Regions from separate parts of the Homo sapiens genome. Here all the other regions are linked to region 2. Evidence: promoter capture Hi-C in 16 types of primary human blood cells and fetal thymus (Javierre and others, 2016). All regions are on one chromosome and are shown on one strand. The core of a region is centred on a gene start or on the middle of the fragment in contact, and the rest is flanking DNA. Distances in the headings are between cores, read along the strand shown. Region 1 overlaps CHD9 (chromodomain helicase DNA binding protein 9). Region 2 holds the start of RBL2 (RB transcriptional corepressor like 2). Region 3 overlaps CHD9 (chromodomain helicase DNA binding protein 9).

Evidence for each region. The method cuts DNA at HindIII sites, captures the fragments that hold promoters and counts their contacts. A CHiCAGO score of 5 or more calls a contact.
Region 1: a fragment that was not itself captured here is called in contact with the fragment with the promoter of RBL2 in region 2 in 6 of 17 cell types (neutrophils, total CD4 T cells, non-activated CD4 T cells and 3 more); the score reaches 14.5 in neutrophils.
Region 3: a contact is called between a fragment that was not itself captured here and the fragment with the promoter of RBL2 in region 2, in 2 of 17 cell types (neutrophils and monocytes). The highest score is 9.3, in neutrophils.

What each region holds. Positions count from the first base shown.
Region 1 is chr16:53,285,986-53,289,241 of GRCh38, forward strand. CHD9 (chromodomain helicase DNA binding protein 9) reads left to right here. Exons shown (of 39, transcript NM_001308319.2): 26 at 241-358; 27 at 1,972-2,029. Among named protein-coding and RNA genes, the nearest start is that of RBL2, 150 kb to the right of the region's middle. The HindIII fragment of the contact is 5,858 bases long and covers 1-3,256 here.
Region 2 is chr16:53,433,082-53,436,221 of GRCh38, forward strand. It overlaps RBL2 (RB transcriptional corepressor like 2), which reads left to right and starts at 1,390. Exons shown (of 22, transcript NM_005611.4): 1 at 1,390-1,715. The coding sequence starts at 1,476. RefSeq lists a silencer at 1,445-1,664 and an enhancer at 2,275-2,384. The HindIII fragment of the contact is 5,814 bases long and covers 1-3,140 here.
Region 3 is chr16:53,301,979-53,305,140 of GRCh38, forward strand. CHD9 (chromodomain helicase DNA binding protein 9) reads left to right here. Exons shown (of 39, transcript NM_001308319.2): 31 at 1,742-2,647. Among named protein-coding and RNA genes, the nearest start is that of RBL2, 130 kb to the right of the region's middle. The HindIII fragment of the contact is 338 bases long and covers 1,536-1,873 here.

The sequences.
Region 1 (3,256 bases), core at 250-2,749, 150 kb before region 2:
GTTTATCCTATTTCTCATATTAACTGATAAATGTAACTGAAATTTTACTTTAGTAGATATCTATTACCAGATCATTTAATGTTTGTGATAATTTCTAGAAAACATACTTAACCTATATCATTTTAATGTATTATCCCTTTAGTCCAGAAATATCATCCACTGTAAATACGAGGAATGCTTATATGTATACACCTTTCTTCTTTTTATCTTTTTTACTTTTGTAATTGGTGATGTTTTCAGGATATGAAAAATATAACACTATTCGAGCAGACCCAGCATTATGCTTCTTGGAAAGAGTGGGAAAACCTGATGAGAAAGCAGTTGCTGCTGAACAGAGAGCGAATGATTATATGGATGGGTATGTGTGTTTCAGAGTCATGAATTTTCTATATATCTCTCTTCTATTCAATATCAGCATATTCTATGTCACACTATTTATCTTTAAATGAGGTAGCAGTAAGGGAATTGGAGTTTACAATCTGAAAGAGCTAAAGATACCCTAATAGGTTAGCACTTATCCAACAGAATGTGATCGAGGAAGAGGTTGGACCTGCCCCACACCCATTCTTTTGATGAGTTTTTCATTTCTTTCATTTTAACAGCTATATCATGGCCACTGAGTTCATAAACTTCTAGGGGCATAGGGGGAGAAAAAGGCAAGAATGTTATAGTTGATGAGACATATGATGACATTTATTACATAGTCATCCCTCAATATCCATGGGGGATTTTGGTATTCAGGACACCCTGCAGATACCAAAATCCAAGGATGCTCTAGTCCTATATATAAAATTGCATAGGATTTGCATTTAACCTATGCACATTCTCCCGTATGCTTTAAACTATCTTTAGATTATTTATAATTCATAGTACAATATATATGCTGTATGCTATGTAAATAGTTGCTATACTGAATTGTTAAGGGAGTAATGACAAAAAAAAAAGTCTGTACATGTTCAGTACAGATGCCATTTTTTTCCAGATATTTTCTTGAGACAGGGTCTTGCTCTGTCATCTAGGCTGGAATGCAATGGCACAATCATGTCTTACTGCAGCCTTGACCTCCCAGGCTCTAGTGATCCTCCCACTTAGTCTCCTGAGTATCTGGGACCACAGGCACATGCCACCATGCCCAGCTAATTTTCTTGTATTTTATTTTTTGTAGAGATGAGGTCTCCCTGTGTTGCACATGCTGGTCTTGAACTCCTGGGCCCAAGTGATCTTCCACCTTAGCCTTGGCTTCCCAAAGTGCGGAGATTATAGGTGTGAGCCATCATGGACCAGCTTTTTTCGCATATTTTCAAACTGAAATTGGTTGAATTTATAGATATGAAACCCACACATAACGAAAGGCCAACTGTACCTGTTTTAAGGCCTTATGTAATCTGTCTTTTCTTACCCAAAGAGAAAAGTAAGGAACACTTTGTGGTTAATAATAATGCATTTAAAAGCGAACTCGCGGCTGGATGCACTTGCTCACGCCTGTAATCCCAGCACTTTGGGAGGCCAAGGCAGGTGGATCATTTGAGGTCAGGAGTTCGAGACCAGCCTGGCCAACATGGTGAAACCCCGTCTCTACTAAAGATACAGAATTAGCCAGGTGTGGTGGCATGTACCTGTAGTCCCAGCTACTCGGGAGGCTGAGGCAGGAGAATCTCTTGAACCCGGGAGGTGGAGGTTGCAGTGAGCTGAGATTGTGCCACCGCACTCCGGCCTGGGCGACAAGAGTGAAACTCCGTCTCAAAAAAAATAAAAATAAAAGTGAACTTGTGAGTAAGGGTACATTAGAACTAGCTTTCTCCCTATTTGCTTTATAACAGCCTTCCTGCTGTGTCTTGGGCTCTTCTGGCTAGAGAAGAGACGTCAGTCTGACTTTTAAAACAAACTAAAACCCTCCAACAAGACTTTGTCCTATCAAGTGAAATCTTAAGTCCATTACAGTAATTATAGCATTTGTTTGTATTTTAACAGGGATGTGGAAGATCCAGAATACAAACCTGCCCCAGCCATCTTTAAAGATGATATAGAGGTATGCATTGGATCATATTTTTAAATCCTCAATTTTAGGTATTCTTTGGTTTCTTGTGTTTGCTTTTTCTTTTGCATTATATTTTGTTTTCATTATACATAATTCTTCTGTTCCTCAGATTAGCTAAGTAAGTGATCAACTTGGGTTGACAAACATCTCAAATAATCACTCAGAATTCACCTGATCTCCCCTTTTAGACAAGATGGGGGCTGGCTTGGACATGTGGATGCAATGGGGCTTGCCCACCTGCTCTACTTCTTAGAGCTAAGAAACACAGTGTCCAAGGGCAAAATCCCAAAGGAGAGTGAGAACTAGATACTAAAGATATACTGCAAGAGTTAGAAACTATACCTACATGAAGAGGTTTGAGATAGAGGGTAGAGCATCAAGGAATTCTGAGTTGCCAAAGCATAGTTCTCAGTGCTCTGTTTGTAGAATGTCAAAAGGAAGAAGAGTTGGATGAAAGTACAGAAAATAATCTGTAGAGTGGGGAAAAGGATTTTAAAAGAGATGAGGAATGTCTAATATTTATGAGAGTGTGGTAAAAGGCTAAATGACGCTAAAGCTGTCAGGTAGGATTTGCTGGACTTGGTAGCTAAGGGGCTTGATGCCTTGATGAGGGCATGAGACAAGGCTTGCTCCAGTGTGTGGGCAATGAAAACCAAAATCCTATATGAGGTCAAGAGTCTCAAAGGCCAGTAATTACTGACAAACAGCACGGAGAAATAGCAAGGAAATTTATCTCATCACGGACTTTGGGTAAGAAAATTATTGTTTCCCTTGAGAATTTGTAACCATAGACCCACCTTCTCTTGAGTTCGTGATTTGTCTTTTACTTTATCTGTGTGGTCCAAGAGCCCTCAGTGTAATATAAAAAAGGATCAGTCCTTTACTGGTAATATATCTAGGGTGCCTGGTAAAAACAAAAAGCACCTGTAAGAAACAGTTCAACCCTGACTATGCACGAGTCCCGAAGATGAAGCCCTGCATAAAATGAAGTAAAAACCCCAAGTTTAAAAATATATGAGAAACCATTTACCATGAGTGAATGTTAGCATGCAATAAAGAGTAAGATTAGACCCCTGAGAATTTCTGATGTATCTACTGAAATAAAAAAATTCCTATTGAAATTTTTTAAAGTAAATTTGTAAATGATTAAAGACATTAAAGAAAGAACCAGGAACAAAAGACAAGATATGATTTTAAAATACTAGAAAGATGTGAAAA
Region 2 (3,140 bases), core at 140-2,639:
TATCAAGCCCATTTATAAATCAAGGATTGGCAATTTAAAAAATTAAAATAAAGAAAGGAGAATTGGAAATAAAATGAATTGGCTGGGCACGGTGGCTCACGCCTGTAATCCCAGAACTTTGGGAGGCCGAGGTGGGTGGATCACTTGAGGTCAGGAGTTCGAGACCAGCCTGGCCAACATGGTGAAACCCTGCCTGTACTGAAAATACAAAAATTAGCTGGGTGCGGTGGCGCACACCTGTAATCCCAGATACTCAGGAGGCTGAGGCAGGAGAATCGCTTGAACCCAGGAGGCGGAGGTTGCAGTGAGCCGAGATCGTGCCACTACACTCCAGCCTGGGCAACAGAGCCAGACTCTGTCTCAAAAAAAAAAAAAAAGTTTAATTCACGCAGAGCCAGCTGAACGGCAGACAGGAGTTTGGTTATTCAAATCAGCCTACCAGAAAATTCGGAGACTGGGGTTTTTAAAGAATGACTTGGCGGGTAGGGGGCCAGGGATTGGCGAATGCTAATTTGTCAGGTGGGAGGTGAAATCACAGGGGGTTGAAGTGGGCTCTTGCTGTCTTCTGTTACTGAGTGGAATTGCAGAACTTGTTGAGCCAGATTATGGTCTGAGTGGCGCCAGCTAGTGCATCGGAATGCGCGGTCTGAAAAGTATCTCCAGCACCAATCTTAGGTTTTACAATAGTGATGTTATCCCTGAGAGCAATTGGGGAGGTCAGGAATCTTATAGCCTCTGGCTGCAAGCCTCCTAAATCATAATTTCTAATCTTGTGGCTAATTTGTTAGTTCTACAAAGGCAGACTGATCCCCAGGCAAGAATGGGGTTTGTTTTTGGAAAGGACTGTTACAATCTTTGTTTCAAAGTGAAATTAGAAATTAAATTCCTCCTGTAGTTAGTTAGGTCTTCGCCCAGGAATGAACAAGGGCAGCTCGGAAGTGAGAAGCGTGGAGTCATTTAGGTCAGATCCCTTGCACTGTCATAACTTTCTCACTGTTAGGATTTTTGCAAAGGCAGTTTCGTGAACGTACAGAGACAGGCCCTTGCTATTATCCCTATTTTTTAGATAAGGATATCCAGGCGATGAGGAAGTTTTACTTCTGGGAACAGCCTGGATACGAAACCTTCACACGTCAGTGTCTTTTGGACATTTTCTCGTCAGTACAGCCCTGTTGAATGTTCTCACGGTGGGGAGGTACGTGTTTAAAATGCGGGGAAGGTGCTTTTATTTCACCCCTGGTGAAACTAGGGGAGCTAATTTTTTTAAACATGATTTTTGGCCCCCTTGAACCGCCGGCCTGGACTACGTTTCCCAGCAGCCCGTGCTCAAGACTACGGGTGCCTGCAGGCGGTCAGCGTCGTTTGCGGCGGCGCAGGCGCGGTGCGGGCGGCGGACGGGCGGGCGCTTCGCCGTTTGAATGGCTGCGGGCCCGGGCCCTCACCTCACCTGAGGTCCGGCCGCCCAGGGGTGCGCTATGCCGTCGGGAGGTGACCAGTCGCCACCGCCCCCGCCTCCCCCTCCGGCGGCGGCAGCCTCGGATGAGGAGGAGGAGGACGACGGCGAGGCGGAAGACGCCGCGCCGCCTGCCGAGTCGCCCACCCCTCAGATCCAGCAGCGGTTCGACGAGCTGTGCAGCCGCCTCAACATGGACGAGGCGGCGCGGGCCGAGGCCTGGGACAGCTACCGCAGCATGAGCGAAAGCTACACGCTGGAGGTGCGCTCGCGGGCGGAGGGGCGCTTCCGGCCTAGTTGGCGTGAACCGGTGCCTTCCGAGCCGCGTCGCGCGCCTCGAGAGACTCTCGGGCGGGTTGCGGGCTCCCAGCCCCGAGAGGGGTGGGGACTTCCTCTGCGCTATTCCGAGGCTCTTAGCCGCTCCGAGGGCTAACCCGCTCTCGCCGCGCTTTCCTGCGGCTTCCGAATGGGGAACGCGTCTTGCCCTAAAGTAGCACAGCAAGGCTGAGATCGCGCTGGGGTCCCGTTGAGGAAAATGGGTGTGTGTGGCCCATCTGACCCCCCGCCCGCCTTGTTAGTAGAATGAACTAGTGTCGTTGTCAAGACCACACGGACAAGGGGAGGGGACTTGCCCTTATTTGCACCGCGATTAACCGGGTTGTGGCACCTGGGTCTCCAGGCGTCTCCGTCTGTTCGCTTCCCCCTGTTAACCAAATTGCCTTTGCCCTGGCGTTGCGGGCGTTTGAGTCAACGTGCTGATGCGTTTTGGGCTGTGTTTACGTCTGTGTAAACAAATTAATACTCATTTCCCCCCAGGCCAGATGAAATGAGCCCTCCGCCGACCCGGATGTAGACACATGCCCCCATTTGTCACTAGGATCAGGACTGTGGCTACCTCGAGGGCTTTTTGGTCACCCCGGGCATTGCACAGGACTCCTGTTGTTGTTGCGATCCGGGTGTGTTAGGTCGCAGCCTTCGGACAGGGCTTGCAGATGAGAAAAATGGCCATTCTAGCCAGTGAGTGTCAGCTTTGTATGCACCTCCCCTTCATGGGCCAATGGGAAGTGACACGGAAGTACGGATTGTTTATCAGCTGTTTGACTGTGTGTGTGGCATTTAAACCTGAGGCCATTTGATTTCTCAAGTCGTTTTATAATTAATTTGTAGAAAGAGTCGGGCAAATAGGTCCAGGATGCAAAGCCTAACCAAGGTATTATTTAAATATGATGTTTTTGGCTATGTGTACTGATGAGTGAGGTTATTTTTAATTTGTATTTGCATTAATAGAATTTTAATTCAATTACTAGTTCCCTCTTTGAATTGTTAGGTCTGCAGAAGATAGTGTATGGTGGCTTTAGAACCCGACAGACCTGAAACCGCTGGAAAAGTTCAGTATGGTGATCTCTAAACTGGAGATATTTGTGTTTACCTCACAGAGCTGTTCTGAAGATTAAATAAGGCAATAATGTAGTTTCTGGCACATAAAGCACCCATATGGACAGTGTTTTCAAGTTTACTAAGCTCTTTGTATATTTACATGATCTGGCTGAGTAAGCTATGTTCCTATTCATCTCTCAGTGCCTTTCTGTAGTCTGGCAAAGAGAAGGACTGGTTGGCTTTTTATGTTGTTTTTTGTTTTTTGGGTTTTTTTTTGGTAAATGGCCTTAAAGGCTTCCAAACAAGCTCT
Region 3 (3,162 bases), core at 455-2,954, 130 kb before region 2:
GGTCTCAATCTCCTGACCTCATGATCCACCCGCCTCGGCCTCCCAAAGTACTGGGATTGCAGGCATGAGCCACTGCGCCTGGCCCTTCCTCTCTTAATGTTAACATTTTACCAGAGTAATTATAGTATAATTATCAAAACAAGAAATTAACATTAAAGCCATTAACTAAACTAAATACCTATTTTAATTTTACCAGTTTTTCAACTAATGTCCCTTTTTGTTCCAAGATCCTACAATGTATTTGGTTTTTCTTTCTCGTTAGCTTCCTGCAATCCGTAACAGGTTCTCAGCTGTTCCTTATCTTTAATGACTTTGATACCTTTGAAAAGTGTTGATCAGTTATTTAGCCATGTATCCCTCAATTTGAGCTTGTCTTATGTTGTTACATGACTGGATTGAGGTCATGCATTTTTGGCAAGAGTGCCACAGAAATGATGTGTTCTCAGAATGTAATATCAAGGGATTGGAGATGTCAGTATGTCTTATTACTGATGATGTTGACTTTAATTGTGTGGTTAAGGTAGTTTATGCTGCATTTGGCCAGTGTAAAATTACTGTAATTAACAAATATCTTAAGCTTCACAAATCTTGTTTCTTCTCAAACTTTCACCCATTGATTTTTAGTATCTGCCAGATACTAAATCTTGTCTACAACAGTTTTTTCTGTGGAATTCTGCTGTAAGAAAGGATGTTTCATTCTCTCTCATCTATTTAATCAGTTATTTATTCATATCAGTATGGATTCATGGGTATTTATTCTATAGGTTACAATCCAATATTGTCTTTATTTATTGCTCAGATTGTTCCATATTTGGCATTAGGAGCTGCTTATGTTGGTCCCTGCATTGTTTCAGCAAGCCCATGTTTCTTGAGTACTTCCCAAGTGTCAGTAACCCACTTTTGCAAAGGCATAACCTTATCAGAGGTATGAGGTAGCATGAGTTCATGTTGAAACTGAACTATCTCAAGCTAGTAATTTGTGCAGTGTTTGAAAGATGTGGCTGTGTTTCCCTAGAAATTTGAGAAAGCCCTTGTTGCCCCTGTGAGTTCACTCCAATGTCCTCTTACCTTTTGCAGTTTGAGATATGCCAGCTTACATTTGTTTATGGAGTATCACTTAACACAAGCTTGTCCAACCTGTGGCCCAGGACAGCTTTGAATGCGGCCCATCACAAATTCGTAAACTTTCTTAAAATATTATGAGTTTTTTTTTTTTTTTTGCAATTTTTTTAAGCTCATCAGCTATCGTTAGTGTTAGTGTATTTTATATGTGGCCCAATACAATTCCTCTTACAATGCAGCCCAGGGAAGCCAAAAGATTGGACAACCCTGAACACTTCTAATTTATAAGTGAGTTTGAGCAAGTGTTTGTGTTATTAAGACAAATGTTATTAAATGCATCGCTCATAGGGAATTTCTTAAAATTCCCAGTTCTATTAATGTACTTCCAAAATAATCTTATGTTTTACATTAACATCCAGTATTTTATGTTACATGATTTTTAGTACTTACTTTTAAAACTTTCTCCTTTTTAAAGCTTTTACTGAAATTTCAAAATTTCAAAATCCTCACTGAATTTCTCCTCACTGAAAAGAAATTCTGGAAACTATACAGTGATATTGCATGGAGGCACATTTTAGAAATGGTATTGTTATAAATATATAAAGATGTATTTATAATGATTTATTTATAAATAAAGGATTTTTGAGATTAATATTTTTGTCCTTGTTTCAATATGTAGAATTGGTGGATCCAAATATTTTTATCCAGCCCATCACAGAAGAACGTGCTTCTAGGACTTTGTATCGCATTGAACTTCTAAGGAAAGTACGGGAACAGGCCCTTCGACATCCACAGTTGTTTGAACGCTTGAAGCTTTGCCATCCAAATCCAGATTTACCAGTCTGGTGGGAATGTGGCCCTCATGATAGGGATTTGCTTATTGGTGCTGCCAAACACGGGGTGAGCCGAACAGACTATCACATTCTTCGTGATCCTGAACTCTCATTTATGGCAGCTCAGAGGAACTACAGTCAAAGTAAGATGGCTCATTCAAGGACTTCTACCCCACTTCTACAGCAATATCAAGTAGCACTTTCTGCTTCTCCTCTTACCTCTCTACCTAGGCTCCTAGATGCTAAAGGTATTATTCTAGAGGAGATGAAAGTTAAAAGTGAAAACCTTAAAGAGGAGCCTCAGTCTTCTGAAGAAGAATCTATGTCTTCTGTGGAAACCAGGACACTAATAAAATCTGAGCCTGTAAGTCCAAAGAATGGTGTTTTACCACAGGCTACTGGAGACCAGAAATCTGGTGGAAAATGTGAAACAGACAGACGCATGGTTGCAGCCAGAACAGAACCCCTAACTCCAAACCCAGCTTCTAAGAAACCAAGAGTCCACAAAAGGGGATCAGAATCTAGTTCTGATTCTGACTCAGATTCTGAGAGATCATCTTGTTCTTCCAGATCATCTTCTTCCTCATCATCCTCTTCTTGCTCCCACTCTCGATCAGGCTCTAGTTCTTCTTCATCTTCATCTTGTTCTTCAGCATCTTCTTCATCCTCTTCCTCCACCTCTTCCTCCTCCTCCTCCTCTTCATCTTCATCAGAAGAAAGTGACAGTGATGAAGAAGAAGCCCAAAAACGAGGTACTATGCATAAAATAATTCTACTTTTTTAACATAACTTTTCTTTTCTTTTCTTTTCTTTTCTTTTCTTTTTTTTTTTTTTTTTTGAGATGGAGTTTTGCTCTTGTTGCCCAGGCTGGAGTGCAATGGCGCAATCTCAGCTCACTTCAACCTCCACCTCCTGGGTTCAAGCGACTCTCCTGCCTCAGCCTCCCAAGTAGCTGGGATTACAGGCATGTGCCACCATGCCTGGCTAATTTTGTATTTTTAGTAGAGACGGGGTTTCTCCATGTTGGTCAGGCTGGTCTCAAACTCCCGACCTCAGGTGATCTACCCGCCTCAGCCTCCCAAAGTGCTGAGATTACAGGCATGAGCCACCAGGCCTGGCCTAATATAACTTTTCAAGTGAAAATGAAAAGAACTCGTTTCAGGTAACTTAAGGATGTTTAAAATTGTTTGCTTACAGTGTTTTTTTGAAACGGAGTCTCGCTCTGTCGCCCAGGCTGGAGTGCAATGGCACGATCTCAGCTCACTGC